Regions from separate parts of the Homo sapiens genome. Here regions 2, 3, 4, 5, 6 and 7 are each linked to region 1. Evidence: promoter capture Hi-C in 16 types of primary human blood cells and fetal thymus (Javierre and others, 2016). All regions are on one chromosome and are shown on one strand. The core of a region is centred on a gene start or on the middle of the fragment in contact, and the rest is flanking DNA. Distances in the headings are between cores, read along the strand shown. Region 1 holds the start of HDAC4 (histone deacetylase 4). Region 2 has its middle 130 kb from the start of MIR4786. Region 3 has its middle 150 kb from the start of LINC02991. Region 4 overlaps HDAC4 (histone deacetylase 4). Region 5 has its middle 120 kb from the start of LINC02991. Region 6 overlaps HDAC4 (histone deacetylase 4). Region 7 has its middle 110 kb from the start of LINC02991.

Region 1 (4,354 bases), core at 1,197-3,696:
AAGTTCTGTTGGAACTTACTGTTACATTTAGGTACTTAAAATGTTTTTGCTAATTGAGAATGTTTCATATTTTCTAACACATATGTAAGTGCTTAGCACAAAGCTCACCACATACTGAATATGCAACAATTATTTAATTACCGATTGAATGTTGTCAGTTATCTGAAAGTTACTGTTATTTGTATATTTTATAATTGGCCAGCTTGCCGATCGTAGCCAGTCTAGGAGTTCTACCAATTTATTGGATCCACCAACCCTAGATTTTAAAATTTGAGTCTTTGATGCTGGTTTCTTTCAACTGTGAGAACACGGAGATTCCTTTGAGTGTGATTCATTTGACTCTGTCAAATACCTGTATGTGAAGTCCCAAGCGCGAATGCTCCCAGGCATTGGGGTTGTCACCCCACCTTTCTCCTTATACACAGCTCACAGGATAGCGTGTTTGCTTTCACTGCACACTATCGTACTGAATTGCTCTGCACTGGCTGTGCACCGGTCTCCTTCAGACAGCCCCTCTGACACATAATGGCAGACACAGCCACCCAGGCCAAGTTTCTCTTTTCCAGACATGGCGAGTGAGGTTCTTGCACCATCCACCCAACGTCTGCGTGGTGCCTCACTCTGCTGGAGTGCCTCTCAGGACTCCTGTGAGGACTAAATGGCACGCAGCAATGGGGCTACCCATTCCTTCTAATGGAAATCTACTTTTTAAAAATTACCTCTGCAAGCATTAGATCCCAGAGCTCGTTTCACGTGACTTTTTGCGCAGGCACTTCTCTTTGTACGTGAAAAACTAACTTTGGTAGACTTACAGGCAGGTTTTAATATTTTCTCGTGATTGTATGTTTTTGAGAATCCTGTCAAATGATACTGAATCTTATCTAGATGTTAGCTAGCTACAGACCCTGTTTCATTCTACATGAAAATTAGATAGTGCACCGTTTCCATCAGCAGCCAAGTCTCCAAAACCCCGTAATTGCTCTCCTTTTCTTCAGCTGTATCTTGTTTTAAAGTTCTCTAATTCACCATTCCTTTCCTTCTAAGTTTAGCCTAAGCATTTCTTGCAATGACCAAAGTTTTCTAATTATTAATGAGATATTTAAGGAAATGTAAAATTGGCATTTTTATTTTGCTAACTGTATTTTTATCCACATAACTAGTTTCCCCCACCAAGAATCACAGGTCGAGAATGCTGTAAAAACGGATCCTTTCTCAGCTCCTAAAAGGAATGGCCTACAATCGAAGCGAACGCGCATCTCCGCCAGGTCCGCAACCACAGGCCCACGCCGTCGGGCCCCACGAACCGGCGCGCGCTGTCAAAGGCGCTTCCTCCCTGGAACGCGGGATTCCGGGGACAGTGTGTGCACTCAAGTTGAAAAGTTGTCATACTCCTGTTGGAAAGAAACGGAAACATCACCACCAGGAGGGTGGCCACTGAAGACCCTCGCCGACACCTGCTGGCAACCAAAGGCGCTTCCGGGGATCTACGGGCCGACCTGTAACTCAACACAAGCCTCCCAAGCCCTGCGGCCTTAAAACAACGCCCACCCGGGCGGTGCGCCGTTCCCGCCACCTCCACGCCTGCCTGGACCCGGACTCGAGACCCTGGCGGCGGGCCGGGCTCCCTCCGCCTGAGCAGGGACGCGGCGAGCGCATCCCACGACCCTCGGCAGCCGTTGCAGGCCTGGCGGACCTACACCCCACACCCTCACGGCCGCGTTCCCGCCGCGGGGCAGGGCGAGGCCCACGGCGCCTGCGCACTCAGTGACCGGGCCGCCCTGCGCCTCCGTGCGCACGCAGCACCACGTGACCCACTGCCAGTATCCAAGATGGACGCCGCGGCGAGGCCTGGCCGGCTCCCCGCGTTAGCCTGCACCCCATTGTGTGCCCTCTAAGCGCGAATTAGGCTCGCAGACATGCGGTGCTGACCGCTAGGCAGCCATGCGGGCTACCGAGTGCGACCGGACACGGCCGGGGCCCGTGTTTACGGCCACTACTGGCCCCCGGTCCCTGCGCCTCCTCAACCGCGAAGCACCCAGCGGCTGGCGCCTGGAGCGTCTTTTGGTACGCCCCACCCTCTAGAATTGGCAGCTCCAGCAGCCAATGAGGTCCAGGACGCGTGCGGGGAGGCGGGCAGGGGTGGAGCCTCTCTGCCGCTCATAGGGCATCCGGCCCCGCGGTTGAGCAGCCGCTGGGCGAGGGGTGGGAGCAGACGGGCTGTGCGCAGGTTTCAGCGGGCCAATGGAAGGCCGGCCAGGCGCCCGGGGCGGGCGGGCGGGAGGCGGGGCCGAGCCGTAATTGACGAGCTCTTCATTAGAAACCAGGCGGGAGGGCGGGGCCCGCAAGGGGAGGTGACGCAAGGCTGCCGCAGCCAATGGTTGGCGAGCCGCCGGCTGGCTGGGCGGGGCCGGGCCGGCTGACGGGCGTGCGGGGTGGCCTATCGCCGCCTGGCTCGACGCTGGAGTGGGGAGAAGCATCATGGTTCAACGTGGGTCAATTTTTTGTGAATGAGGAGGGGAGGTTGTGGGGCCGCCGCCGCGGAGCACCGTCCCCGCCGCCGCCCGAGCCCGAGCCCGAGCCCGCGCACCCGCCCGCGCCGCCGCCGCCGCCGCCCGAACAGCCTCCCAGCCTGGGCCCCCGGCGGCGCCGTGGCCGCGTCCCGGCTGTCGCCGCCCGAGCCCGAGCCCGCGCGCCGGCGGGTGGCGGCGCAGGCTGAGGAGATGCGGCGCGGAGCGCCGGAGCAGGGCTAGAGCCGGCCGCCGCCGCCCGCCGCGGTAAGCGCAGCCCCGGCCCGGCGCCCGCGGGCCATTGTCCGCCGCCCGCCCCGCGCCCCGCGCAGCCTGCAGGCCTTGGAGCCCGCGGCAGGTGGACGCCGCCGGTCCACACCCGCCCCGCGCGCGGCCGTGGGAGGCGGGGGCCAGCGCTGGCCGCGCGCCGTGGGACCCGCCGGTCCCCAGGGCCGCCCGGCCCCTTCTGGACCTTTCCACCCGCGCCGCGAGGCGGCTTCGCCCGCCGGGGCGGGGGCGCGGGGGTGGGCACGGCAGGCAGCGGCGCCGTCTCCCGGTGCGGGGCCCGCGCCCCCCGAGCAGGTGGGCTCCGGGCCGCCGGGAGTGAGGGCGGGGGCGGGCGGGCGCCGGGGCCGGCCGGGCGCCGTTTATGTAACTTTGTCAAATGCTGTGAGTTTGCAGAAAAACGTCCCTGCCGGGGGTCCGCGGCCCCGCGCTTGTCGTCGCCGCTGCGAGCGCCCGGGGGGTCGCGGGAGGGCGGGGGGCTGCCCGGGACCCGCTCGGCTCAGCCCGCAGGGCGCCAGCAGGCCGAGACGGGGCCCGGTCCCGCTCGGGGGTGGGATCCGCGTTTGCCGGCGTTGCGAAAACACACCACGGAATCATAAGCAAATTATCTCGTATTTACATTGAGCGTTGAATTATTTGACACTGTTATAGGAGGAGACCGTGCGTATCAGTTGGAAAGGCCGGGGGTGGAACCCAGTGTACTCATTTAATGCACATCAAAAATTTGTAATAACTTGAGGCAGCTGATATGAGTGTTTTCTTTATTGCATGTTGTAAATTGACCTGCTGTGACACAGTTTTCAAATAAAGCGTTGCAGAAATTAAACTTAAGTTATTTTAAAACTAATGACTTTCTTCACTAAATCCTAATTGCATGACTGTAGAGACCTACCTAATTGCTTGCTGAGAGCAGTTCTGCTTGCTCTCCGTGAGGGAGGAAAGGGCCTGTGCAGTCACTTTGCCGCCCCGTTTTTCTCTGTTCAGGCTTTTCTGTTTATTCCCACAAATCACCGAAGCAGTTAAGGCCTGGGAGTAAGCCTGTAAACAGTCCTGGCCCAGCGCCAGCCCAGCAGGACTGGGGGGATACTGGCAGGTTTGCACCTTGACCTGGTTTCACTTTTTCTTTTGTAATATGATCGTGGTTGCCTGGAGTTTTAATTGCTTCTGATAATTCTGTGCATTATTTTCGGGACTGTCCAAAGAAGGCTGGTGTGGTGGTTTCAGGACCTAGCCAGGAAAGGTGGTGGTGGTGGCTGGGGAGAGGGAGGGTGGAAGGGAGGGAGATCGAATTAAGAAAACTCAGCTGCTTGTACACAAATATACACTACAGCAGTTACAAAGCAACAAAAGTTATTGCAGAATTTTGCAGTAACTATGGCAACACAATTACTCTATTATAATTGGAAATGCAAAATGCCACCGAGTTAGAAGTTTCATCAGAATGGAGTTTTGGATATCAAAAATATGTGAAATTTAATTTTTTTTCAGGTAGCTCTTGTGAATTCTAAAATCTGTGTTCAATTACCTATTTTTAAGACTGATCGGGCTTTCCCAGATATTCT
Region 2 (4,354 bases), core at 1,145-3,644, 420 kb before region 1:
TCCTCATCTTGAGAGACACCTTCCTTACACAATGCTGGGTGACCCAGGAACCCACATATTCAAGACAGAGGCCCCATTTATGGCAGCCGATGGCCCTGGGCAGGGGTGGGCTGATGTCTGCTGGATACAGACTGTAGGGTGCACTGGTTGTCAATTCTGGAATGTCCTGGAGAGCTGTGACTGGGAGGTGACAGCATCACCCACCCCGCTGGACACTTGTTCCCTTATGGGAAAGTCACAGCCCCTCTCGGGTGACCTTCTGAGCTTTAAGGCCTTCCTGCAGGCAGCTGTGTCCTCTGCCGGGCCTCCCCCGAGGTCCCCTCAGTGCTCTCCCATCTCAAGGCCGCACACACGTTTCTGGAGGCCTGGGCTGTCCTTCCTGGAGGTGCTGGAAGGAAGCACTGACTGCTCACCGTGTTCTGTGCTGTTTGATGCCTCCTTGGCCAGGGTTCATGACTTATACCATGTGCCGGATACTGTGGTCAGTGCAGGGTGTGTCATCAGCTTGCAGAGCATGCCCTCGCTGGGATTTGAGGACCCATGGGGCCCCCTGAGCCGATCCCAGCACCTTACTGGAGCTGAAGTACTTTTTCTGATTGAATCGTCATCTCCAGAGGAGCCAGGGCCACGTCTCAAGGTGGCGGAGGCAAAGGACTGGCCCTTCCCACAGATGCATCCGCTGAGTGACGTGCCAGAAAAGCCTCCACCTCTGAGAAGGGGCAGCTCCCCTAGACTGAGCCTGGGGTTCCTGCCACAGGGGAGGAGCCCAGCCGGGCAGAACCCCCAGGGTTAGTCCTGAAGGGAATCAAGGATGGGGAGGAGGAACTGGTGGGGTTGGAGGGACAGCGAGAGTGTGGCTTGGTGGGGAACGGAGAAAGGATCTATGGAGATCTCTGCAGCATGGGTGCCCTCTGTTACACGTCCAACTTGGCCTGAACTCTGATTGCTACTGTTTGGGGGAACAATGGAGCTTTGTGTGGGCCATGATCGTAGCAACACTTCCCAGGATCCAGGGCAAAGCCAGGAGCTCCCTGCTCTTCCCATGGGGGGCCCAGCTTGCCTGCCCTGGATGGGCAGTGTGGGCATCCTGCGAGGAGCCCAGCTGCCCTGGATGGTTGTGAAGGTGCCTGAGGGCTGGGGGAAGCTGTAGGAGGGAGGCCAAGACCCAACAGTGGGCAGCAGATGCCGGGTGGGTAGAGAAAGGCCCTGGATACAGGAGGCAGAGGCCGGTGCTTGGTCTGAGGCGGGACAGGACGGGAAGGGAAGAGAAGGAGCTTTCACCCCTTAGGCAGGTTCCATGTTTTCATGTTCGCTGCAGCAGGCCAGAGCACCCCTGAGCGGACAGGGCTGGGGCCTCGGGCTAGGAGGGGCCAGCAAGGCTGGACATCATGCTTTTGCTTTGGTGCCATTTATGTGACTTTTTCATTAGCTTCATTTAGCCAACCAGGAGTAAAAGAGAAATCAGATGGCCAGATGCTCTCTGGGCTGGGTCCTGGCAGGAGGGATGTGATGAGAGGTCAAGGGCCCGAGGGATTTAGGGTTCAGGTCAGTGTGCTGGTGAATGATAGATGAGGTCCAGGTCAGCGTGCCAGTCAATGATCAGATGGGGCCCAGGTTAGCGTGCTGGCCAATGATCAGATGGGGCTCAGGTCAGCATGCCAGACAGTCATCAGATGGGGCCCAGATCAGCATGCCAGACAGTGATCAGATGGGGCTCAGGTCAGCATGCCGGACAGTGATCAGATGGGGCTCAGGTCAGCATGCCGGACAGTGATCAGATGGGGCTCAGGTCAGCATGCCGGACAGTGATCAGATGGGGCCCAGGTCAGCATGCCGGACAGTGATCAGATGGGGCTCAGGTCAGCATGCCAGACAGTGATCAGATGGGGCTCAGGTCAGCATGCCGGACAGTGATCAGATGGGGCCCAGGTCAGCATGCCGGACAGTGATCAGATGGGGCCCAGGTCAGCATGCCGGACAGTGATCAGATGGGGCTCAGGTCAGCATGCCGGACAGTGATCAGATGGGGCCCAGGTCAGCATGCCAGACAGTGATCAGATGGGGCTCAGGTCAGCATGCCGGTGAATGATCAGATGAGGTCCAGGCTAATAGCCAGGGCTGGGATCCCAGGAGGGCAGGGACAGAACCGTGGGCAGAAGCTTGGAGTTTCCCTTAAGAGGGACCTGGGCTGGTTGGCATCTAGTACAGTGGTCAGGATGAGGAAACACCCCACTCAAGGGTTTAGAACAGGAAATGCAGCATAGTACCTACCTAGTGATGAGAAAAATACCACAAAGGGGAAGAAAAAGACCAGGACAAGCCTATGAAGCTCTCTGATCCTGAGTCCATCAGCTCAGCCACCTCGGGCACCAGCTGGTGGTGACCAGCCACGGGGGCTTAGATGTCCCTGGGATGACGAGTCCCACATGGCCTGGACCCCATGCTGGCGATGTGGATGGCAGACACCCCTGAGTGCACTGACTCCACTTCTCACCAGCCAGATCTGGGGCTTGCTGTGAGACAGCTCTGGAGATCCAAGGCCCCCTTGGGCCTCTCCACTCCCCAGGACAGGGCTGACCCTTCTCAATGTCTGGCCTCACCCACCTCTTTACCTAGCATAAAAGCTTAAGCCAGTCACCAATCGCATCATATCCACATTAGTGGGACGGCAGGGCTCCTGAACACACGGCTTTAGTAGATTAGATATCCTCGTTGGTCAGTGGTGCTGGTCACCAAGGGACCTTCAGAAACCGGGGAGAAGCCATGGGAGTGCAGAGAGCCCGTGTGTGGTCCTGGCATCAGTGGGCACAGAGGCAGGCCCTGGGAAAGTTGCCTGGACTCCTGCGGAAGGTTCTGATCGTGCCCGTTCTCATGTCCCTGAAGCCGGCCCTCTTGGTGTCTTCAGTTCAATGTGACAAGTTGTTTAATGTGGCAAATGGAGGCCTTATCACCTCTAAGGGATGTTGGGTGCAGCATCTCTGTCTGCTTATCATCTGTCACATTGCTGCTAGGATATGCAATCTCTCTCTGTGGGGGTAGCCCGAGTTTTGCTGCTAATATTAATGGTGCATGACATGTGTGCATCTCCATTTCATCATGAAGCACTTCCTCAGAGGTGGTCTCGGTAGTCCTCCCAGGCCTCAGGCAAGACAAGTCTCATGCACTAGGTGCCTCGAGAATGCAAACATGCACATGTCTCAGTCCCCCCACAAGAATGTAAACATGCACACGTCCCAGTTCTCTCTCAAGAATGCAAACATAAATGCATCCCAGTCCTCCCTCGAGAATGCAAACATGCACGCGTCCCAGTTCCTCCCTCGAGAATGCAAACATGCACGCGTCCCAGTTCCTCCCTCGAGAATGCAAACATGCACGCGTCCCAGTTCCTCCCTCGAGAATGCAAACATGCACGCGTCCCAGTTCCTCCCTCGAGAATGCAAACATGCACGCGTCCCAGTTCCTCCCTCGAGAATGCAAACATGCACGCGTCCCAGTTCCTCCCTCGAGAATGCAAACATGCATGCGTCCCAGTTCCTCCCTCAAAAATGCAAACATGCACATGTCCCAGTTCCTCCCTCGAGAATGTAAACATGCATGCGTCCCAGTTCTCTCTCAAGAATGCAAACATAAATGCATCCCAGTCCCCCCTCGAGAATGTAAACATGCACGTGTCCCAGTTCCCCCTCGAGAATGCAAACATGCACGCATCCCAGTTCCTCCCTCGAGAATGTAAACATGCACACGTCCCAGTTCCCTCTCGAGAATGTAAACATGCATGTCCCAGTCCCCCCTCGAGAATGTAAACATGCACACGTCCCAGTTCCCTCTCGAGAATGTAAACATGCACGCATCCCAGTTCCCCCTCGAGAATGTAAACATGCATGTCCCAGTCCCCCCTCGAGAATGCAAACATGCACATGTCCCAGTCCCCCCTCGAGAATGTAAACATGCACGCGTCCAGTCCTCCCTCTGTGTGCTCCCTGCGCCCTCTCTGGTTGTTATTGTGTGATCCAGATCAGGGGTTGGCAGAGGATCACCTGGGGCTGAATCTGGCTGACTTTTTAAAATAAAGTTTTATTGGCACACAGTCCTCCCACCATTTGTATGTTGTCTGTGACTGCTTTCCCACTGCCCTGGAATCAGTGAGGTGAGTTGTCCCACCGACGCTGTGTTGCCCAGAAAGCCTAAAGTGTTTCCTGTCTGCCTCTTCACAGAAAATAAATGTCTCCCCTGATCCAGATAATGGAAAGGAAGAAGTTGTTTTGATTTGGGAGCGCAGCCCCCAATTGGCACCCCTCTGGGGAGTAGTAAATACTCAGCTCTTTGGATGTTGCCATGGTGGGGGTTGTCTGTC
Region 3 (4,354 bases), core at 578-3,077, 330 kb before region 1:
CGCACAGAGAGGGCAGGGGAACTCCCCAAGTTCTGTTGCAGTTCTGAACTCCCTAACAGCTGTTGGAGAAGGTGCAGAGCCCCATGAGGAGCACACAGTCGTGGCTGCAGTACCGCACAGAGAGGTCAGGGGAACTCCCCAAGGTCACACAGCGGTTGGAGAAGGTGCAGAGCCCCATGAGGAGCACACAGTCGTGGCTGCAGTACCGCACAGAGAGGTCAAGTTCAGGGGAACTCCCCAAGGTCACACAGCAGTTGGAGAAGGTGCAGAGCCTGTGAGGAGCACACGGTCGTGGCTGCAGTACCGCACAGAGAGGTCAGGGGAACTCCCCAAGGTCACACAGCAGTTGGAGAAGGTGCAGAGCCTGTGAGGAGCACACGGTCGTGGCTGCAGTACCGCACAGAGACGTCAGGGGAACTCCCCAAGGTCACACAGCAGTTGGAGAAGGTGCAGAGCCTGTGAGGAGCACACGGTCGTGGCTGCAGTGCTGCTTCCTCCAGTGGTGGTCACAGCTTTCTTCCCGTGGACGCCTCTGAAGCCCACTGGGTAAACTCACGGCCTCCATTTGATGCTGGGGAAATGGAGAAGCAGGAAGCCCATGTGATGTCCAGGGTAGAGGGCTGAAGGGGCTGGGGCTGGTCTCAGTCTGTTTGGAGAGCCGCAGTCAGGGCTAACCACCCACCTTCTCCATCAGCTTGGGGTCCCATCCACACCAGCAGCCCTCCAAGCCTGCCTCCTGCACCTCGGCTTCCTGCACCACTGGAGGAAGCTCCAGAGTGAGCCCGGCACACCACCCTGTAAATCCAGCCTCGCCCCAGGCCCCCAGATTTCTTTCTACCTCACCCAGGGATCAAGAAAGAGCTTTAATGACACGGTCCCTTCCAACGCCAGCAGCAATGATCCCAGGCAGGGAAGTTCTCATCCCCAAGGACCCCGGGAAGCGGAGTGTCAGCGGGTCAGGGTGGAACCCCTGAGCCAGGGCACCCCAGCTGAGAACCCCTTTCCCTTGCCACCCCGAGGGCTGCCCTGGCCTCTGGCACATGGCTCAGAGCTGACCAGCCTGGCAGGGCCTATGCTCACCTGTGGCAGTGCCTGCCTGAGGCTTTGGGGCTAGGAGTTGGACCCGTCCTCCTCCTCAGGTAGCACCTCCCTGCCCACGGCCTCACCAACCTCTCTGCCAGAAGGCCCTGGGACAGGGTGTGTCTCCAAATACCCACTGGCCTGATCTCCTTCAACCCCACCCCACGAGCAGGACTGTCCCAAAGGGCTGAGCTGCTGTTCAAAGTCACACAGCTCAAAGGTAGGACTGGAAAGGAGGTGGCCCCACCCCGCCTCCCTCTGCCCCACCCGGTGCTCCTCAGGTCCTAGCAGCAGGGGAAGCGCTTGTGAGAGGCCAGGTTTCCCCACGTACGAAGGACCGAAGGTGCCCTGGGATCCCGACAGGCTTCCCCTGGGATTCAGACAGCCCCGCCCTCAGGTTAGACCCCGCAGCCCCCAGGGGACCCTCGGAGCTGGCTGGAGCTTCCCCCACCCACAGCAGGCCCCAGGTCCTGCAGGAGGCTGAGCCCACCCAGAGCTCCAGGGGCCCGACCCACCTGGCCTGGTCTCCCGGCCGCGTTGGCGGTTCTCCGACCTTTTTCTCAACATAAGGGAACGTTCCATGGGCAGGTGTCAGGCAGTTGTCAGGCAGGGCATTAGGAACATTAAGGACCCAAGAGTTTGAAAAACTGATGCTGAGTGTGACAAAATGAAAATCGCAGGAAGGTCTTGATCTGGTGAGAAGGTCTGGGCAGAACTGGTTTCAGCCAGTGAATTCACAAGCTGCTTCACACCTCAGCCCCATGCCCGATGGCACCTGAACGCCAGCCCCAGACTGCCCCTGTGAGATTAGATCAAACCTCTGAGCCTGATCAACCTCCTGGCCCGTGGCTGGGTCTGTGCTGGAGAGGGGAGAAAACTGCCCAGTAATGATCGCGTTTCATGGGTGATGAGAGTCCCATCGTTTCATGGGTGATGAGAGCCACGTCGTTTCATGGGTGATGAGAGCCCCGTCGTTTCATGGGTGATGAGAGTCATGTCGTTTCTGAACGTAACAGACGGAGGTCCGTGCTGAAAGAACACTTTTCAAGACAGGAGCAGAATCATCTTGCTAATGCTTGTGTGATCAGGCAGGCAAGGAAGGAAGGGGCTGCAGGCACTGGCCTGGGGTCAGGAGCACGGCCACTGTCTCCATGAGACGGGACCACACGGCAGCACCTCTGACCTCCACACAGCCACTGGGGCCTTGGGGACTGGCGCTGTCTCACAGTTCTCAGCTGTCTCTCTACATCCTCCGCTCACAGGTCCCCCTCCACACACACGCATGTTCCCCTCCTGCGTAGTAACAGTTCCAGCCGGGAGAGCGCGTGCTGGGGCCGGGGCTCGGCAGAGACAGCCCAGCGCCTCTCGGACAACTGTCCCTGCCTGTGCACAGGGAGCAGGCCCGTGATGGCCGACCTCAGCCCCAGTCATCCTCCTGGGACTCTTTCCACCAGCATTGATGGAGCGCCGCCAGAGCTACGCCGCGAGGAGGAGGAGAGCTGGACTTGCTGGTGCTGAACTCAAAGGCCCAGGGCAGAGTTGGATGCTAAAGCAGTCACTGCCTGTTGGCTCCCTTCTGCGAAGCAGCCAGGAAGACGGGAGGCCCACTGGACACCTGGCTCCTTTGCGTTTGTGCCCAGCTGGGCGTCCTGCAAAGCCAAGGTGCCCCTCCACTCATTGCCCTTGAAAATCACAGGGTGGGGGCATCTCGGGGAGGAGTCTCAAACAGGCAGGCTCTTCAGCCCTTTTAATCCCAGACGCCAGGATGCTCAGGCAGACGTGGAGCTGCAGTGCTGCCCGCAAGGCTGTGGAGTGCTCCTGCTTGCCATTGCTCTGAGTGGCCCTCTGAGGCCAGTGCTGTGAGCCTGTTCCACAGGTGAGCAGCCTGAGGTGGGGAGGGCCTCGGCTGCTCTGAGCCCCAGCTGCCTATTTGTAGAACTGGGTAATGAGAGTGTGGGTTGTCCTAGGGGTCAGATGAATGGACATCTGCGAGGTGCCCGGGAAGCACCAGCGGCCCATCACTGAGGCAGCCACTGAACAACAAGAAAGGGCAGGTGCAAGGAGCCCAGGGGTGAGGGTGTGGGTGGAGGTGAGCTCACCCGAGATAAACGGCTGGACCACATACACGCAGGTGCTAGCAGGACCCTGTCACCTGGTGACCCACATGGCAGACAGGACTCTGCCGCTCTGGCCCGGCTGCACTCTCTCCTCACTCACCCGACACCCACCTGATGCTGCACCCGGGTGGAGGTTGCTCTCTGTGAGAAGTGGGTGCCCTGGCCAGGGGCTCAGGCAGCCAGAGGATGAGGATGGCCTGTCGGGTGCTGGCTCCCCATAACCTCCCCTCCAGAAGCACAGTGGGCCCCTCAGGGCTCGGCACAGAAGCACTCTGCCCTGCACAGGGCCTGGCCCTCCCAGCAGGTGCGAGCCTGTCTGGGAACCCTGGGCTTTTGTTCGTGAGTGGCAGACGGCTCGTTAGGCCCGGGTAAAATGAAGCAAGAAAACTTCCTTGCTGGCTTATGCCCTCCGGCCGTGTGTGCTCCTCTGCTGTCTATCTCAGACCTGTGCCTGGTAAAACAAGCACCATGGTCAGACAATGTCCTGAGCCCTCACGAACTGCAGAGGGCACTGAGCCAGACGGGGTGGGCACTTCCCTCGGGGTTCAGCCTGCATCATGGCTCCAGCCCTGGATGCACGGGGAGGCAGAGAGGACTGGGAATCTCAGCCTTGGCGCACACCTGGGGCCACGCGGCCTCCACCTTCTCACTGCAGGATGGGGAGGCCAGGCCGGCCAGCCAAGGGGCTGACAGAGGAGGGCTGGTGTGGGCCAGCTGCTTGCTGCACAGGGAGTGCTGACCATCAGAGGCCGTGGGATCCCCACAGGGCAAGGCAGGCCTTGGCCACCCGCTATGCCTGAACACCAGCAGCTGTACCCTGGGGCCTGCCACCCCTGCTACTCTGGGCATGTTCATCACATGCTTGACCATAGCAAGGCCTCGACACCCAAGGGCTCAATCCTGCAGGTTCAGAGGCTGGACCTCTTCCCACAGATTGAGAGCCAGGCCCTGTCTTTCAGGTCAGCCTCATCAGCCAAACTCAGGAGACTGACGTACAGGCTTGGAAGGCCATGGTGCTGATGTGGGCGCAGAATTACAGCAGACCATGGGTGGGACTTCAGATGGGAGTCACTTCCATGGAGAAGCTTCCCATCGCTGTGGTGGAGCCAGGTGTCCCTGAGACCTCCCTTACCTCACGGGCAGGCCACATCGCAGGG
Region 4 (4,354 bases), core at 814-3,313, 330 kb after region 1:
AGGCCCGGTAAGACCTCAGGGGACCTGCCCACTTGGTGGGGCCAAGGAAGTTTCTGGAGGAGGCAAGCCCCCAGCTGAGTCCTGGAAGAACGAGCCTGGCACGGGACATTATGGGAGAAGGGCCGTCCCGAAGGAACAGAGCCCGATGGTGCAAACCCGCTCACCTGGGCTGCATCCACAGAGCCAGACCTTGGCCCTGATGGCAGGGGCTCTATCGGGGCCTCTGACTGTGGAATGAAGAAGCATCACGGCCAGCTCTGCATGTTGGACAGGCCCGTCTTGTGGCAGCTTAGGTGACAGACTTGGACCTGGCAAAGAGCATTCCAGGGTAGGATCTGGGGGCCAGTGGACAAGCCCAGAAAACAGCGGCAGAGATTGGGACAGGGCCACAGGCTGGTGAGGTGGGGCCATCTCAAAGAGGTTGAAGTGAGATGGGATTGAGGGGAGTAGGGGCTGATTTTGGGGGAGAGGGCACTTGGTGAGGTCTCGAGGTGCTGGCTTAGAGGAGGCTGAAGGGTGCTGGGCAGAGATCCAGCGGGAGAAGGTTCAGGTGGGGGTGGATGAGGGTTCAGTGGGGACGCTTTTGCTTCAGTCTGTTTTCAGGAAAAAGTGAGAAAGTGTCCATCCAAGTGGGTGGTTGGGAGCATCTCCACCTGGAGGCCCCTTAGTAGGGAGAGCCAGTGAGGAGCCAGTTTGTGTGGACGATGCCCCAGGGCATTTATTGGGGCAGAACGGCAGCCAGAAACTCAAGCATGGCGTGCCAGCCCTGAGCCCAGTTCCCACGGAGTCCCCAGAGGCTTGCCGGCTGTGGGTGGCCACAGGACTGCAGCCTCTTGGCCCCATAAGCTCGGTTTGCTCTGAGGCTTGTGTTGACGGAAGGTGTGGTGAGTTTTGTTTAGGGTCCTACTAGGGGAATGAACTGGAAGGTCATTTCTTTCCAGATGTTGAAACCCAGCTGTTAAGTGAATTATTGCATTTAGATGCAGTTGTGGCTTTTGAGGATGGTATGTACAGGCCATAATTTGATGGTATGTGGTGGTTTAGAGCTAGACGTGCCCCGTGACACAGCCCCTTGCGCAGAGCACAGCTGGGAGGCTGCACGAGCGATGGCCTTTCGAGGAAGCAGAGTGGCCGGCACCCTGCCTGCTGTCCCGGTCCAGCTCTGTTCCCCCTGGGAAGCCGAGGGGCGTGGCCAACACCCGCCTGCTGTTCCAACCCAACCCAGCTCTGTTCCCCTGGGAAGCCCAGGAGAGTGGCCCGGCACCCGCCTGCTACTGCTATCCCGGCCCAGCTTTGTTTCCCCGGAAGCTGAGGGGAGTGGCTGGCACCCGCCTGCTACTGCTATCCTGGCCCAGCTTTGTCTCCCAGGAAGCCAAGGAGAGTTCGCTGGCACGCGCCTGCTACTGCTATCCCAGCCCAGCTCTGTTTCCCAGGAAGCTGAGGGGAGTGGCTGGCACCCGCCTGCTGTCCCAACCCAGCTCTGTCTCCCTGGGAAGCCGAGGAAAGTGGCCAGCACCCACCTGCTATCCCGGCCCAGCTTTGTTTCCCGGGAAACCAAGGGGAGTGGCTGGCACCTGTCTGCTGTCCCAGCCCAGCTCTATTCCCTGGGAAGCTGAGGGGAGATGTCGTCTTCAGGCTGCAGGTGCAGGTTGGCTGATGACCGAGTGAAGGGTGCAGTGCTGTGTCGGTAACGAAGGTGCCAGAGAAGCCACATTGAGGCCACGGGAAGGGGATGCGTGGCACCCCACGGCTTCACACGGGACCTCCCTAAATGCAGAGGCCACCGCGAGGAGAAGCCGCTCTCTCCCCTTAGCACCACGTTTCCCTCTGTACGTGCCTCACGGGCACAGGCACCCTCTGGGCACCACAGTCATGGCTTCCCTGGGCTTGCCGGCCCCAGGGGTGCACCTTACAGGCATTTGTCCACCTTCTCTAAAGATCCCCTCTTTCCACCCATTTCTCCTGCCTCTTGAGCTGACGATCAGTGGACGATCAGTGGGCCTACTGCCTTGGGAAACTGCGAGCCCACCCCTCTCTCCCCTCAGGTTGCCCCAAGAAAGGCCAAAAGTGACCTCATGGAAATACTCTCCTTAAAGTGATGGCTTGAGAGGCCCACGGCAAACATCTCAATCTTATTTTTTTAGAGACTGAGTTCTTTTTTTTTTTTTTTTTTTTTTTTTTTTTGAGACGGAGTCTCATTCTGTCGCCCAGGCTGGAGTGCAGTGGCGCGATCTCGGCTCACTGCAAGCTCCTCCTCCCAGGTTCATGCCATTCTCCTGCCTCAGCTTCCTGAGTAGCTGGGACTACAGGCACCCGCCACCACGCCCAGCTAACTTTTTGTATTTTTTAGTAGAGACCGGGTTTCACCGTGTTAGCCAGGATGGTCTCGATCTCCTGACCTCATGATCCGCCTGCCTCGGCCTCCCAAAGTGCTGGGATTACATGTGTGAGCCACCGTGCCCGGCCGAGACTGAGTTCTTTATTAAAAGTTTAATTCTGGGAATAAAATGTGAGTCCAGTTTCCCATTTTTTGCAGCATCTATTAAACAGGGACATTCCTTCAGCTTCCTCTTGTAGGAAAGTCGTGGAGGGTAAGCACAGTCCTGAAGACACAGGGAGTGCCATGCTCAGCTTCCTTTTTACAGGCAAAGAAGTCATGTCCCATGGAGGAGAAGGGACGTTTCTTAGTCGCGCCACAAACGGGTGCTGAAGGTGCACTCATGCACCTCACGTTCTGACCTTCTTATGTCTAGCAGGTGTTTGGGATCACAACCTAGAGGGTGTTGAGCCCAGTAAAATGAAAATGAGTGTGTGGGCACGTGCATCCGACTGTGCCCCACGCAGCCTCACGTGTGGCCGACGTGCCAGTGCCCACGAGCCTGGGCTCATCTTTCCCATTTTGTTTTGACTGGCTTTGAGGCAACACCACACACCAAGCCTAGACAGCAGAGACTCTCTTGGTATGAACTTCATTTAACGGCGATTTTCACAGGACTTCTTTTTGGAGGGGGATTAGAAGTAAAATAGCTCAGCAGCACTTCAAAGTGGGGAAGTAAAGCCTCCACGTGCGCTCGCTGCAAAGCAGCAGTCAGAGTGCCTCGCCAAGGACACAGCGTCCACACAAAACGCCTGTGGTTCTCATTGAAAAAGGTCTTGGCTTTAAAATCCACACCAAAAGCATGGCTGGAAATGTGTTTTTCTGTCCAAAGAAAAAGGTTTTATGACAAGAACTTTATTAAAATAATTAGAAGCGAGTCTCCTTGGGATGATGTGGACAGTTGAAAGCAGAGGGCGGCCCCCTCAGTCCTGCGGCCCCCCTCAGTCCTGTGGCCCCCTCAGTCCTGCTTCCCCACTCAGTCCTGCTGCCCCCCTCAGTCCTGCTGCTCCCCTCAGTCCTGCTGCCCCCCTCAGTCCTGCGGCCCCCTCAGTCCTGCGGCCCCCCTCAGTCCTGCTGCCCATTAGGTTGGTCAGAGCCATGGAGGAAGCCTCGGAATGTCGGTCAGAAAGGACTGTGGGGCCAGTGCCTTCCAGTGTCCAGGGCAGGGCCCTGGGTCCAGCAAGAGTCAAAGGACTCCTGGATTCCAAGGCATTCTCTCCATCCTGCCACTGACTAGACTGATTTCTCCCCTCCCAGCCCTGCGGCGGGAGTGCCGACACCAACTCCACGCACGCTCTGAGGCCAGTGCGGTGTTTCCTGTGTTGTACACCATGTTTGCGAAATCGCCATGCTTTGTGGTGGGGTCCCAGTAGGTGAGAAGAAACCTCTCACTCTGGGACCAGAATCATGCATGGAAGAATGTTACAGAAGTTGTATGGACAGGACCAGAGCAGAGGTTTGGGCAACTCCAGCTGGTGGGCCAAGTCCTGCCGCCTGTGCTCTTGGCACAGTGTTATCAGAGCACAGGGACGCTCGCACGCCGATGCACTGTCTGTCCTGTCTTGGGCACCACAAGGGCAGCATCACGTGGTCCTGGCAGAGACCGTGTGGCCCACAGACTGAGGTCAGGTGCCTCCTATCTGACCCGTGGCAGGAAGCTCGCTGCCCCTGTCTAGATTCACCTTGTTTCCTCAGCCCCTAACGATGGCCCTCGGGGCACAGCTCCTGTGTCCTTGGAAAGCACTTTCTACAGCTGCCGCAGAGGCAGGTCTAGGGGAAATTGTGTGGACTGGCTCTCTTCAGAAAAAAGAACAGAAGCAGACTGCTCAGAAGCCACCCAGGGTCTCCTGTGACTCCCATCTAAGTTCCAGAAGTGAGTTTCTTGGCGGGCAAGGTGCCTAGGTGTGGATTTGACGCATGTTTGGAGGGCAGAGTTTGTCAGCACTGACTTGAACAGGCTGAAGCCACACAGTCCCA
Region 5 (4,354 bases), core at 806-3,305, 300 kb before region 1:
ACTTGACCCACAGAACTTAGCAAGCACCCCACCCACCAGCAACAGAATCCACATTCTTTTCAGGAAGAGTTCTCCAAATATGTGAGGCCTGATATAAGATAGGGATAGCATTGCAGGTCAGTGGGGAAATAATTGAATAAATGATGCTGAGAAGTTTGCTATCCATGTGGAAAAGAAAAATAAAATTACATCTCTGCTTGCATAATCCCCAAAGATAAAATGTGGCTGGATTAAACATAACTGTGGAAAGTACATTTTTAAAACTGTTATTCAAAAAAATAAATATTTTGTGACCACAGAGTAGGGAAAGATTTATTAAGGAAGTACTAACACAACAGAGGTTCAACACAAAGGACAAAAATGATAAATGTGATTGTATCTATAGTTCAGATTGTACACGAAAGGACATCACAACAAATTTACTAAAACACCACCACATGGAAGATGTCTGTGTCACGCAAAATGGCTGAAGGGTTAAAATCTAACATATGTCAAGAATTCCTACAAAAAGTACAAAATAATAAACAACAGAAAAAATTTTCAAGGATTCAGAAGGGCAATTTATGGAGGGAAAATTTCCAATGGTAAATAAACTTGAAAATATGATCAATCTCACTAAAGGTCAGATAAATCCATATTAAACTACACTAAAACTCCAAAACTGCCCACAAAAAGCAACAGAAATTTAAGTCTCATCACTTAAGTGCTGCAGAGGATGTAGAGAAAACAAAACTTTTATATACTGCTGGTGGGAATATAGATTGACGTAATTACTTTGTATAACAAATTGCCAGTGTCTAGTAAATTTGAAGATGCCTCTACCTGGTGAGGAACAATTTGCTCCTGGGCATATGTTAGAAGCTTAGAGAAACATTAAGTGCACAGGAAGAATTTTATAAAACTATTCCTAGCAATATTACATTTTGTTGAGGAATACATGCATTCATAATGAAAGTGGTTAGAAACTCAGGGTGAGGATAAACACCCAAGTCAGGATGGTGATCCTCTCTTGGCAGGGGGTGTGAAGTGGAATAGGACCAGGAGCGGTACATGGGTGGCTGCAGACATGGATTCCACATTTTATTTCCCAGGCTGCTTGTTGGGCTCATGCATGCACATGAAAGAAAGGTGGAACCTCCCTTATCAAAAATGCTTGGGATGAGAAATGTTTCGGGTTTTGGTTTTTTAAGAATTTGAAATTTTTCTTTTACATAATGAGATAGCTTGGAGATGAGACTGAAGTCTAAACACAAAATTTATTTATGCTTTATAGACACCTTATACAGATAGTTGGAAGGTAATTTTGTCCAATATGTTTAATAATTTCGTGTATGAAACAAAGTTCGTGTTCAGTGCTTGTGCGTAGAATTTTCTAATTGTGGTGTCATGTCAGTGCTCAAAAAGTTTCAAATTGGCTGGGCGCGGTGGCTCACGCCTGTAATCCCAGCACTTTGGGAGGCTGAGGTGGGCGGATCACGAGGTCAGGAGATCGAGACCATCCTGGCTAACACAGTGAAAACCTGACTCTACTAAAAATACCAAAAATTAGCCGGGCGTGGTGGCAGGCGCCTGTAGTCCCAGTTACTCAGGAGGCTGAGGCAGGAGAATGGCGTGAACCCAGGAGGCAGAGGTTGCAATGAGCCAAAATTGCACCGCTGCACTCCAGCCTGGGCAACAGAGCGAGACTCCATCTCAAAAAAAAAAAAAAAAAGTTTCAAATTTTGGAGCATTTCAGATTTTAGATTTTGAGATGAGGGATGTTAAATATATATTCATTTTTTATTTTTAGATGTCCAAAAAGTTGCGTAAATTATAGTTAATTTCAGATGCTTTGGAAACTTAGTTCAGTTAAATACATAAATCATAAAACTGCAGTTAATGTGAAAAATCACCAATGTTTAACTTCTATCATTTGATGCAAAATATTCGTCAGTAAACTTACTTTAAATTGTATTGTGTTAAAAAAATTAGATGATAAAAAGGAAAAAGGAAATAAAGACATGAGACTGATTCTATGATGTTTTGGCTAAATCAATATTTTTCAAACTGTGGTCAGGCCCCTGGGGGTCCCTGAAACTTTCTCAGAAGTCTCTGAGGTCGAAACTCTTTTCATAATGCTAGGAGGCCACTGTTTTCTTCACTATATTGACGTTCGCATTAATGGTACCAAACAGCCTCAGTGCTGGGCCTGGAACCAAAGCCGGAGCCACACCACACAGCAGTCACTGCATGCGTCACTGCCAGGCACTCACGGGGAGGGACAAAGAACATAACCTCCGTGTTACTTAAGAATGTTCTGGGTGAAGGAGAAAAATTATTTATGTTATTAAAGCTCAATGCTTGAGGCACATGCCATTTTAATATTCTAACTAAATAGAAAGTACACACAAAGCCCGTCTGCAAGCTGAAGAACAATGGTTCTCTTGAGAAAAAGCGCCATGTGACTGAACTAAGAGCTCCACTACCCACTTTTTTCATGGAATAATGTTTTTACTTGAAAGAATGACTTACAAACTATTCAGAGTTCAGTCTTTGGCAGATTTCTTGAAAGCAAATGAAGTGAACCAGCCTTTTCAAAGAAAACCATTGACAGTATTTGTTGCCAATGCTAAAATGTGAACTGGAGTGTAAATTAAAATTTTGGAAAGCATGTATTCACCACCAACGTCTTCATAGCTTCCCATTACTTAAAGACTTCCCTGGTGAGATGGGTGGTGATATTAGCAAATATGATTTTTTTGGATACTGAATAATGAAACGTGTCTACATTTGAAAACACTGTATAACTCAGTGAGTCATTATTTTCCAAATGACCAAGATAGGATGTTATAAAATCATGCAAAGTAAAAGATCCATTCAAAGTTAATGATAGGGCTATGCATTTTAATGTAACAGAGATGAAAGCGTTCATTAACAGGATTCAGACTCTACATTGTAACAAATCTTCAAGAAACTACCAATTTTTGTGTATAGCATAAGGGTCCAATTTTATTATTTTGCATGTGCATATCCAGTTTTCCCAAGAGAATATTCTTTCCCTATATGTATTTTTGGCACTCTTGTAGATCAGTCAACCATATACTGTGGATTTATTTCTGGGCTTTTGGACCAGAAACTATAAATCTTCTAGAAAAAAACATATAGGAAAGGCTTTCTGGCATTAGTCTTGGAAATGATTTCATGAATATACCAAAAGCACAGGCAACAAAAGCAAAAGTAGACAAATGGAACGTCAAATGTAAAAGCTTCTGCACAGCTAACAAGCAACAGATGAAAAGGCAACCTACAGAATGGGAGGAAATATTTCCAAACCATAGATCTGATAAAAGGTGAATTTCCAAAATATGTGTGAAACTCCTACAACTCAATATCAAAAACACCAACAACTCAATTAAAAAATAGGCACAGAGCTTGAACAGACATTTCTCTGAAGAAGATACACAAATGGCCAAGAGGTATGAAGAGGCTCAATGTCACTAATCATCAGGGAAACGCAAATCAAAACCAACCTCCTACCTGTGAGAACAGCTGCTAAAAAAGAAAAAAAAAAGACGCGCATCGGTGAGGCTGTGGAGCAACCAGAAACCTCATATACTGTTGTTGTTCAGAACGCAAAATGGTACAGCCATTGTGGAACACAGTGTGGAGTTTCCATCGGTGAGGCTGTGGAGCAACCAGAAACCTCGTATACTGTTGCTGTTCAGAACGCAAAATGGTACAGCCATTGTGGAACACAGTGTGGAGTTTCCTCAAAAATTAAAAATAGGGCCTGGTGTGATGGCTCATGTCTATAATCCCAGCACTTTGGGAGGCCGAGGTGGGTGGATCACCTGAGGTCAGGGGACCAGCCTGGCCAACACGGTGGAACCCCGTCTTTACTAAAAGTACAAAAATTAGCTGGGCATGGTGGCACATGCCTGCAATCCCAGCTACTTGGAAGGCTGAGGGGGAAGAACCGTTTGAACCTGGGAGGTGGAGGTTGCAATGAGCTGAGATCGCGCCACTGTACTCCAGCCTGAGCGACAGAGTGAGATCCATCTGAAAAATAAAATAAAAAATAAAAATAGAACCACCATATGATTCAACAATCTCTCTTCTGGAATTTAACCAAAAGATTTGAAATCAGGACTCAAAGAGGTATTAGTACTCCTGTGTTCATTGCAATATTACTCACAACAGCTAAGATGTGCAAACAACCTAAATGTCCATCAACACATGACTGGATAAAACAAACGTGTACACACAATGGAACATCATTCATCCTTAAAGATGAAGGCAATCCTGCCATAGGCAGCCACACATGATGAACCTTGGGGACAGGCCATGGGAAATAAACCAGCCCCAGAACAAATAC
Region 6 (4,354 bases), core at 805-3,304, 310 kb after region 1:
TGGTCCTGCAGTGCCGCGAATCACCACAGACGGTTACAGGCAGGGAGGACGGGAGCCGGTGGACAGCAGGAGCCGCTGCAGCCGAAACGGTGCAGTGTGTGTGTAATCACTGATCGCAGGGTGAAGCTCAAGGTCTGGATTCTGTTATGGAAATGAAACAAAATTGTTTTCTTCCTGAGTTTTTATAAAAATCACTGCTTTGAAAATTATCCCGTCAGAAAGAGAATAAACGGCATTTATTCATACCACCACCAAGCCCTCCTAGAGTTATTTTATTTTGTATTGTAAATAGGCTGCAATCTCTTAATTTGGGGCATGTTTTTGGCCAGACTTGAAAAGGATTGAATTTGCACTGCCCTGCAGCCAGCACGCCTGTGCAAGGCAGAATTTATCATTTGCAAATGAAAGCTAAGTGCAGACTCAGAGCTGAGGGGGTGAGCCCAGCAGCCCCTCCCAAGTGTTAAATCCAGATCTGAGGCACAGCAGATGAGAGCTGCACCCTCACGTCTGGGTGTGCAGATGCTGATGGAAAAGCTCCCCACGTGGACGCGGGCAGAGAGGGTAGCCTGTTGGCATGGGCAGGGAACAGTGCAGGCCGTGGGGCTTCCTGAGGTACAGCCACCGGCAGGATGTGTTTTCTTCCCATTGTTTTCCAAAAGGAAGAAGACAGACAGGAGGCCGGTGCAGACCCCTGCCCTGGTGTGGGATGCACCTGCTGTCGCTGGCACAGATGCAGCTCTCCTGAGCCTCATGTCTCCTCCAGAGCCAGGAGGGGCCAGCCTCCTGGGGTGTCAGGAGGAGCAAAGTAGACCTCGGGAGCCGAAGTGTGGGCACACAGCAGGTGCTCTTGTCAGGGAGGGCAGAGCAGGTGAGCAGAGCCAGCCACCTTCCCCGAAAGCAGCTGCAAACTCTCCCGGAGGCAGAACAGTGGGGCTTGGAACACGGAAAACTCACCACTCCTCGGCGCTGGGAAATGGGAGCTGTAAAGTGCTTTGACCTCTTTTTCAAACCAGATCAGCTCCTGCGTTGCTCCTCTCCAGTGACCGCAAGTTTCAACTGGGTGAGGAGCTGGTGTCCCTGCTCGGCCTCGCCCAGCGGAGTCCTGGCCTGCTCTCGTACGCCCGGCTCCCCGCGGCTCCTCTGAGCTTCCCAAAGGCCTCCCAGCCCTGCCAGCCCTCGGCATGTCCCTTTTAGACTCCATGGGATTATCCGTGGGAAGCTTTCTCCATGTTTCCCCCCGCCTTTTTCCTGTCTTTATTGCGAAAGAGAGAGAAAAGGAGAGGAGAGAAGCGAGAGAGAGAGAAAGAAAGGAAAAGAAAACAAAAAAAAAAAGAAACGAAACACAGAGTGAGCCATTTGCTCCTTCCTGCATTAGCAGTTGCGGCCGCCTGCCCTGAGCCAGGCTATTGCTCAGTGGTGGCGCTGCACGCCTGAGCCAGGCTCCCTGCAAGAGGCCTGGAGCTCCAGGCTGGTCCCTGGGAGCTGGAGCCGTGGTCCTGAAGCAGGCGAAGGAGGGTCTCTTGAGTTCTCTGGGGACTGGGGTCCTGCAGTTTGGCTGGGGCTTTGTCCTTCACTCTGTGCAAGACTCCAGAAGCTTCTGAACCCCAGGGTCCCATGGGAGGGGGCACAGACACAGGCACCTGGTAGACCGAGCAGCTCCTTGGCACCCCAGGTGTGCAGAATCCCCAGAAGACCCTTCAGAACACGGGTGTAGTACACCCTCCGCTCCCTGCAGTGTTGGCCTAATCCCAAAGCCTAGTTCATTGTATGTTGGAGAGAAACCATCTCTGGGTGCTGTCCCCACAGGGGCAGCCTCGGGGCCTGGCCTGTCTGGGACCCCGCCTCTGCTGGCTGACACAGAGCAGGTGGCAGAATCTTGCCCTGCCCAGCTCTCACTCCTGCGATGTCACCTTGGATTTTTTTTTTTTTTTTTTTCCTCTTTGGAGACAGAGCTTCAGTCTGTTACCCAGACTGGAGTGCAGCGGTGCATTCATGGCTAACTGCAGCCTCGACCTCCTGGGCTCAAGTGATCTTCCCGCCTCAGCGTCCTGAGTTGTGGGGACTACAGGCCCAGGCCACCACATCTGGCTAATTTTTGTTTGTTTGTTTTTGAGACGGAGTCTGGCTCTGTCGCCCAGGCTGGAGTGCAGTGGCGCGATCTCGGCTCACTGCAAGCTCCGCCTCCCGGGTTCACGCCATTCTCCTGCCCTAGCCTCCCGTGTAGCTGGGACTACAGGCGCCCACCACGGCACCTGGCTAATTTTTTTTTTTTTTTTTGTATTTTTAGTAGAGACGGGGTTTCACCGTGTTAGCCAGGATGGTCTCGATCTCCTGACCTTGTGATCCGCCCACCTCAGCCTCCCAAAGTGCTGGGATTACAGGCATGAGCCACTGCGCCCGGCCCACATCTGGCTAATTTTTTGAAAAGAAAACCATCACCGAATACACTTCAGGAAATGTCTTCAGCCCCTTGAAAATGCATTTTAACTCACCTTGCTTTGATGATGAAGCTTCAAGACCGCCTGGAAAGAAATCCTCCCTCCCCACATAATGAGCGGTGTCTATCAAGTGGCAAGTCTGCCTGGTGGTGGACAGGAGCCCTCGAGGGCCTGGTCTGGGGAAGGGAGAGGCAGGGTGGACACGCCTGGCTCCTGCTTAGGAGCCCCAAAGCACTCGGCGCTCAGAGGGGCTCAGTTTGAGAAGGAGGCGTCCTGCAATGGACCTGCAATCGCCCTGGTCAGCACCGTGTGGAAGCTGAGCAACCTATGACACGGCTTCTAAGACCTCCACCGGGCTGGGCACCCCCAAGTCCCCGGTGTGTTACCCCACAGCAGCTTGCAGGCAAGGGACACACTTGGGGACAGATGCTCAGGTTCCCTGGGGCCAGCCCAAGGGCTGTGTATTTCATCTTAACACCTCCCTCCCCTGGCCAGACTCCCATAGGAGACTGCTCTGTGCAGAACTGGCTGTCCAGGTCTCTGTCTGTCGACTTTCCTCCTGAATTGAGCCAGGGCTGTAAGAAATTTCTGGTGTGCCTAAATAAATAAATGAGCCAACACACAATCGGGGATTGTTGACGTGTTTGTGTGAAACACGTTTTCTGTCTGAAGTGGAAAAGGCCAGCGGGCTGACTTGCTGGTGTCCAGGCAGAGCCGTGTACCGTCACTAGGGCAGAGCAGGGCAGCTCTCCTCACCCGCCCACACGGCCAGTCCCGCTTAGCTACGCTGGTCAACATGTGGAGCTTCCAGTTAAACTCGGCACAGGAGAAAGTCACTATTGGAAGAGACTGGTCGTGATTCCCCTTACATTTCATTTTGCTGCTAATTATTTGACAGGTCGACTATCCCTTATCCGAAATGCTTGGGGCCAGAAGTATTTCAGAGTTTGGTGTTTTTCAGATTTTGGAATATTTGCATTGTACTTACCAGTTCAGCATCCCTAATCCAAAAATCTGAAATCCAGAATGCTCCAGAGTGCATTTCCTTTGAGCGTCACGTAAGCGCTCAAAAAGTTTCCAGTTTTTTTTTTTTCCTTTTTGGAGACAGAGCCTCACTGTGTTACCCAGACTGGAGTGCAGAGGTGCATTCATGGCTCACTGCGGCCTCGACCTCCTGGGCTCAAGTGATCTTCCCGCCTCAGCCTACAAAATGCTTTTGTAGTATTTCGGATTTCAGATTCTCAGATCAGAGATACTCAAGCTGAATAACTCTCTTAACTACAGTTCCAGTTAAAAAAAAAAAAAAAAAAAAGGAAATAGATCACCTTGACATCATTACTTTTAGATGGAAGTATACTGAAGCAATTGAGGGAAAGGAGGATGCCTCAGAACAGGTCAGGACACATGCATCTTTCTTCTGGTAAATTCTCTTGTATTTTCCTGTTTAAACTTTTTGGCATGTCTTAAAAAGATTGAAGGCTGAACGTGGGCTGCAGCTGCCCTGGCTCTGGTAGGCCCTGGGGTTTCAGAAGCAGAGCCCACGGAACCTGAGCTGCTCTGCCCAGCCAGGGCTGGTGATGACGGTGGCCTGGGAGGGTGACCTCACTGTGGGGTGTTGTTTCCACAGGTGGACAGTGACACCATATGGAACGAGGTGCACTCGGCGGGGGCAGCCCGCCTGGCTGTGGGCTGCGTGGTAGAGCTGGTCTTCAAGGTGGCCACAGGGGAGCTGAAGGTCAGTCGGGGCCTGGACAGTGGTGGCCCTCCAGGAGGCCTGCCATAGATTCCCAGTGTGGGGAGGGGCCGCCCACTCCGTCTCCCTCTCATCAGGCTGGGAGGCGGCTGTGATGGGGAGGCGTGGACCCCACTCTGTCAGCACAGCCTCGCTATTGAATCAAAGAGACATTGCCCACATT
Region 7 (4,354 bases), core at 689-3,188, 280 kb before region 1:
ATCTCCCTGGAGGAGCTTTCTCCTTCTTTGTCAAACAGCGGTGGCCTCTGTTCTCCCTCAGCCTGTTGTGAAGCCCACCACCATGATTGTCAGAAGGTCCTATAATTCCAGGGTCACCTCCCACCTCCCTGACACCCCACGAGCTCTCCCAGAGCAGGAAACAGACCTCGTTCATCTCCATGGGGCCAGCACCTGCCATGGTGCTTGGAACAGGACTGTTGCTCAATCAATGCCTGTGGAACAGACGGATCCTGAGTCTGTCAGTCTTCTCCATGCCTGGGTGGGTTCTCCTTGCACTACAAAGGAGTGGAGGAGGAAAGTCGTCCACAGAGTTGCAGAGGCACACAGGGGTGAAGTGGGAATGCAGCCTGCGTGTAGGTCGGGTGTGATGCCATCACGGCTTCACTTCTCCCCATGAGGAGGTGAGCCTCAAGCGCTGTCCCTGCCCCCGGCATCCCTGGCTTCTCAGCAGTGCTGTGTCCATGCATTAACAAGGGTCTGTCCTGATGGATCAGTCCAGACGGGTAATTTAACTGAATGCAGAATTCAAGGGGAAAATGTATCTATGAACATTTTCAGTGACATATCTATGTATATATCTCCGTTCAGTGATTATATAAACATGATTATTAAGTTTTCGGCTTCAGGAAAAGCTAAGGCAAAATCAATTCAATTCAGCAGCTCCCACCCCCAGGTGTCCTCGGTACTGCCTTCACTGCTATTTTCCACCATTTCAGTGTCTTCTTTCTAAAGGGTCATGGTTGCAAGCTTTTTCCCATTTTTGAGCCCTGGGGACTCATTTTCTCATAGAATTGGCTGAAATGTGTGGTTTTCCTGGGAAAGGAATCCATGAAAAAGTGAAATAACACTTTTTTTCTTTCAAGACAGGGTCTTGCTCTGTCACCCAGGCTGGGGTGCAGTGGCTTGATCATGGCTCACTGCAACCTCTGCCTCCCTGGCTCAAGCGAGCCTCCTACCTCAGCCTCCTGAGTAGCTGGGACCACACGTGCACCATGCCCAGCTAATTTTTTTATTTTTATTTTTGTAGAGACAGGATTTAGCCATGTGGTCCAAGACAGTCTACAACTCCTGGGCTCAAGTGATCCTCCAGCCTCAGCCTCCCAAAGTGCTGGGATTATAGGTGTGTGCCATCATGCCTGGCCAGAAATAAAGTGAAGAGAAGTAGCAGTTGAGTGAGCCATGCACAGTTTTGTTTTGCAGCTCAGAGCTGCCTATTCCCATTAGGCAAGAAATGGCTCATGGGATTTGAAGACCAGGCCGCCCTGCATCTTCCTTCTGATGGGTGGAATGCAATTCCCACCCATCTTGGGTTTGATGCAATTCCACCAGCAGCATTGACTCATCAAGCTTCCAGGGAAGGCAGGATTAAGTGGAGGTTAATGAGATGTCAAACAACAGTCATTCTGGAAGCTTCCATATGAGCTCTGCTCACCAGCATTATGCTCCAGTTCAGGCAGTCACAGGTGGAGAGTGGACCTGCCTGAGAAGATCCAGAAGGAAGAAAGGTCGGTCGAAAGGAAAGCAGCCAGCCAAGAGCTAGTGGTGAGGACAGTGAAGACTCCTCATGGACTGTGCTTCAAACTAGAGAGAACGACTGGCAAAAAGGTAGATCACAGCATCAGACACTCAGAGAGATACAGATAGTGCCTGCCAGCCAGCGTGTGGTTGTGAAGGGCGAGAATGAATAACTGCCTAACAGTCAGAGCTCCCGTGATTTTTACACTTTCTTCCCATTTGAATGGGCATTAACTAGGTCGGACACAACTCTGAAGCTGGGGAAAGGAGAGGCCTGAAGTGGTTTTCTCAAGGTGATACAGATAGTATGTGGCAGAGTTGGGTTTTCGATGTAATTCAAATGGCGAATTAACATGGGTACTACTGATTTGGGCACTGAAACTCAATCTCAGCAATGCACAAAAACAGAAGGAAGTTAGTGGATCCATTAAAAACAAAAACCCACCTCTTCCCTTAAAACATTGAGAACTCTGGGTACTTGGGCTTCTGGGATGGGGTAGTATAGGGAGGAATTATTGCCTAGAGTAGAAAAAAAGAGACTCCAGAGATAGGATGTGGGGAGAATTTTCCTGGTGTGTCTTTAATCCTTCTTCCAGCACTGGGCAGAAGTTAAAAACTGGTCCATCTACTATCCCTAACCACTGTAAGGGTTTCAGTTTCTAGGGAGTTTAGAGTAAATATCAACAGTTCACTGCTCCGAACACAACTAGAAAAATAAATTGATAAATTATAAAGATTATAGTTGTAAAACCATTGATTAGCAGTGAAAGTAGAAGAACCAAACAAATTAAAATTCCAGAGCAGGAAGAGCCCTTCCCAGCTGAGCTGCAATCACTGACCATTTTGTCCCTGGGGGCGGGGGTGGGAGAGATTTTCTGAATCTGGGAAAAGGCTGAGGTTTAAGCTTTTCCTAGGCAGAGGGGCTCTTTTGAGGGAAAGATAAGTCAGTGGCTATTTTTAAAATAATTTGAGCTGGGCTAAGAGATCAGAATCTAGAGGAGCTCAAAACACTGAGCTGTTTTCTCCTGTAGGTTTATTGCTGGCTTCTGCAGTGGTACAAGAAGGGTGGAGGCACTAGAGAGGGAATGAGATCTCCCACTGCCCCACTTGCCAGGCCCACCGTCTGGCTTCAGTCTTCAGACTTGGAAAACAGGTGCACTGCTTCTCATGTTGTACCCCAGACTCAAATCAGCTCAATCCTGAATTGTGTTGCGGTGATTAGCACCTAATCCCCATCTTCCAAAAAAAGGTGGGTAGGGAGAGGCAGAAATTGTCAGAGAAACAGTAGCAACAACTTTAGTTTCCATCATCTTTGTATACACGACGACTTTCCTGTAATCAGAACTTAGATGAATGTGAACTAGGGAAACATGACTAATGATTGATAAAAAGCTGTCAATAGAAGCAGATCTGTAAATAATCCAGATACAGAAATTAGCACACAAGGACTTAAAATTATCAATTATAAAGGCATCAAAGCCAAGAGGGGAGAGATGCACTAAGCGGCTGAAAAGATGGAGAATTTCCCAAAAAAAAAAAAAGTTTTGGAATCTGTAAAAAGAATCAAATAGACATTCTGAGTAAAAAATAGAATATCTGAAATTGAAAACTCATTAAATAAACTTCATAGCAGATGGGGCACAGTAGATCAGCCAAGCGAACAGAAAGACCAAAGCTCAGAGAGAAAGAAAAGACTAGCAAGAGCAGACATGTAAACGGTGGGCAAGTGGACCAACACACTTCTATCTGGAGTCACAGAAGAAGAAGACAAGGAGAATACACCAGAGTTAATATTTGAGGAGACTATGGCTGAGATTTTCCAAAACTGATGACAGACTTCAATCTACTGATTTAAGAAGCTCAAGGAAGCCCCATTTACCCTGTGTGAGGAGGGAGCAGCCATCCCAGTGGTAGCTGGTTGGGAGGATAAATTAAAGATTCTACTACGCACAAATTGGATGAAGGATAATTCAAAACACATTCATCCAGGCTTTCCAGCCACAGAGTATTCCTTTATCCCTGTACCCCCTTCACAGCTCCAGGATTAGGTAATCATGCTCAGGAGAGAGTTGCTTAAGTGAGACCGGTGCCAAGGGAGAGATGTAATGTGTAATACCAGATGCTCTTCACCAGAGGATGCATCCTCCCTCCATCTCAAAAAATCCTCAGAAGCAGAGAAATTGTCTACATGGGTTTCATCCCCTCCCCTCAAATATCCACTTCCAGCACAGATAGATAATATCTCAGAAGGGTGTATTAGCTCAGTAAAAGTAATGAGACTTCTTAAGAATACAACTGCTATATAGAGAAAGACAACAAGAAGAGAAATTCATACCAGATGAAGCAGAATAAATAGAACAGATGGAACAAGAGTTTAAAATAAGCCTGTTTAATTTCCTCTAAGAAATAAGGCAGGGGGTACTGGGAAGATTTAAAAAAAAGAATAAGAAATTATATATAAAAATGATTTAAAAAATCTATACACACACATGCATACACACACACCCACACACATACATTTAGCCCGTGTGTGTGTGTGTGTGTGTGTGTGTGTGTATGTATATGGTATGTGTGACACACACACATATATATGGGCTAAATATCAGAATGAATTTAGCCAGAGATTAGTAAGCACAAAGATCTGTCTTAAGAATTCTCCAAAAGAAATAAAGAAGATATTAAAAGGATTTTTAGAAGTGGAAAGTAAAGAGATATAGAAGACTGAAGTAGAGCCATCTGTTTATACATTAGAGACTCAGAAAGGAAGAAAACAATAAGGAAAAGAGAGAACATATATGAAGATTTATTGGCCAAGAAT

Evidence for each region. Contacts are between HindIII fragments. The CHiCAGO score rates a contact against its expected background, and 5 or more counts as called.
Region 2: a fragment that was not itself captured here is called in contact with the fragment with the promoter of HDAC4 in region 1 in 2 of 17 cell types (M0 macrophages and M1 macrophages); the score reaches 5.8 in M0 macrophages.
Region 3: a contact is called between a fragment that was not itself captured here and the fragment with the promoter of HDAC4 in region 1, in 3 of 17 cell types (M0 macrophages, M2 macrophages and neutrophils). The highest score is 6.0, in M0 macrophages.
Region 4: a fragment that was not itself captured here is called in contact with the fragment with the promoter of HDAC4 in region 1 in 3 of 17 cell types (naive CD4 T cells, naive CD8 T cells and total CD8 T cells); the score reaches 6.7 in naive CD4 T cells.
Region 5: a contact is called between a fragment that was not itself captured here and the fragment with the promoter of HDAC4 in region 1, in 1 of 17 cell types (M0 macrophages). The highest score is 6.0, in M0 macrophages.
Region 6: a fragment that was not itself captured here is called in contact with the fragment with the promoter of HDAC4 in region 1 in 1 of 17 cell types (non-activated CD4 T cells); the score reaches 6.1 in non-activated CD4 T cells.
Region 7: a fragment that was not itself captured here is called in contact with the fragment with the promoter of HDAC4 in region 1 in 2 of 17 cell types (M1 macrophages and M0 macrophages); the score reaches 6.8 in M1 macrophages.

The regions. Positions count from the first base shown.
Region 1 is chr2:239,399,112-239,403,465 of GRCh38, reverse strand. HDAC4 (histone deacetylase 4) reads left to right here and starts at 2,446. Exons shown (of 27, transcript NM_001378414.1): 1 at 2,446-2,488. HDAC4-AS1 (HDAC4 antisense RNA 1) reads right to left here and starts at 2,030. Exons shown (of 2, transcript NR_135575.1): 1 at 1,930-2,030; 2 at 1,109-1,391. RefSeq lists an enhancer at 1,238-1,367 and silencers at 1,498-1,767, 2,038-2,157, 2,178-2,617, 2,628-2,797. The HindIII fragment of the contact is 12,493 bases long and covers 1-4,354 here.
Region 2 is chr2:239,815,485-239,819,838 of GRCh38, reverse strand. No RefSeq gene overlaps it. Among named protein-coding and RNA genes, the nearest start is that of MIR4786, 130 kb to the left of the region's middle. RefSeq lists enhancers at 30-530, 1,248-1,834. The HindIII fragment of the contact is 465 bases long and covers 2,162-2,626 here.
Region 3 is chr2:239,726,517-239,730,870 of GRCh38, reverse strand. No RefSeq gene overlaps it. Among named protein-coding and RNA genes, the nearest start is that of LINC02991, 150 kb to the right of the region's middle. The HindIII fragment of the contact is 4,915 bases long and covers 1-4,284 here.
Region 4 is chr2:239,073,054-239,077,407 of GRCh38, reverse strand. All of the region lies in intron 22 of HDAC4 (histone deacetylase 4), which reads left to right. Among named protein-coding and RNA genes, the nearest start is that of MIR4440, 6.3 kb to the right of the region's middle. The HindIII fragment of the contact is 6,470 bases long and covers 1-4,354 here.
Region 5 is chr2:239,699,105-239,703,458 of GRCh38, reverse strand. No RefSeq gene overlaps it. Among named protein-coding and RNA genes, the nearest start is that of LINC02991, 120 kb to the right of the region's middle. The HindIII fragment of the contact is 2,384 bases long and covers 864-3,247 here.
Region 6 is chr2:239,089,828-239,094,181 of GRCh38, reverse strand. It overlaps HDAC4 (histone deacetylase 4), which reads left to right. Exons shown (of 27, transcript NM_001378414.1): 18 at 4,066-4,173. Among named protein-coding and RNA genes, the nearest start is that of MIR4441, 6.1 kb to the right of the region's middle. The HindIII fragment of the contact is 916 bases long and covers 1,597-2,512 here.
Region 7 is chr2:239,681,628-239,685,981 of GRCh38, reverse strand. No RefSeq gene overlaps it. Among named protein-coding and RNA genes, the nearest start is that of LINC02991, 110 kb to the right of the region's middle. The HindIII fragment of the contact is 1,009 bases long and covers 1,434-2,442 here.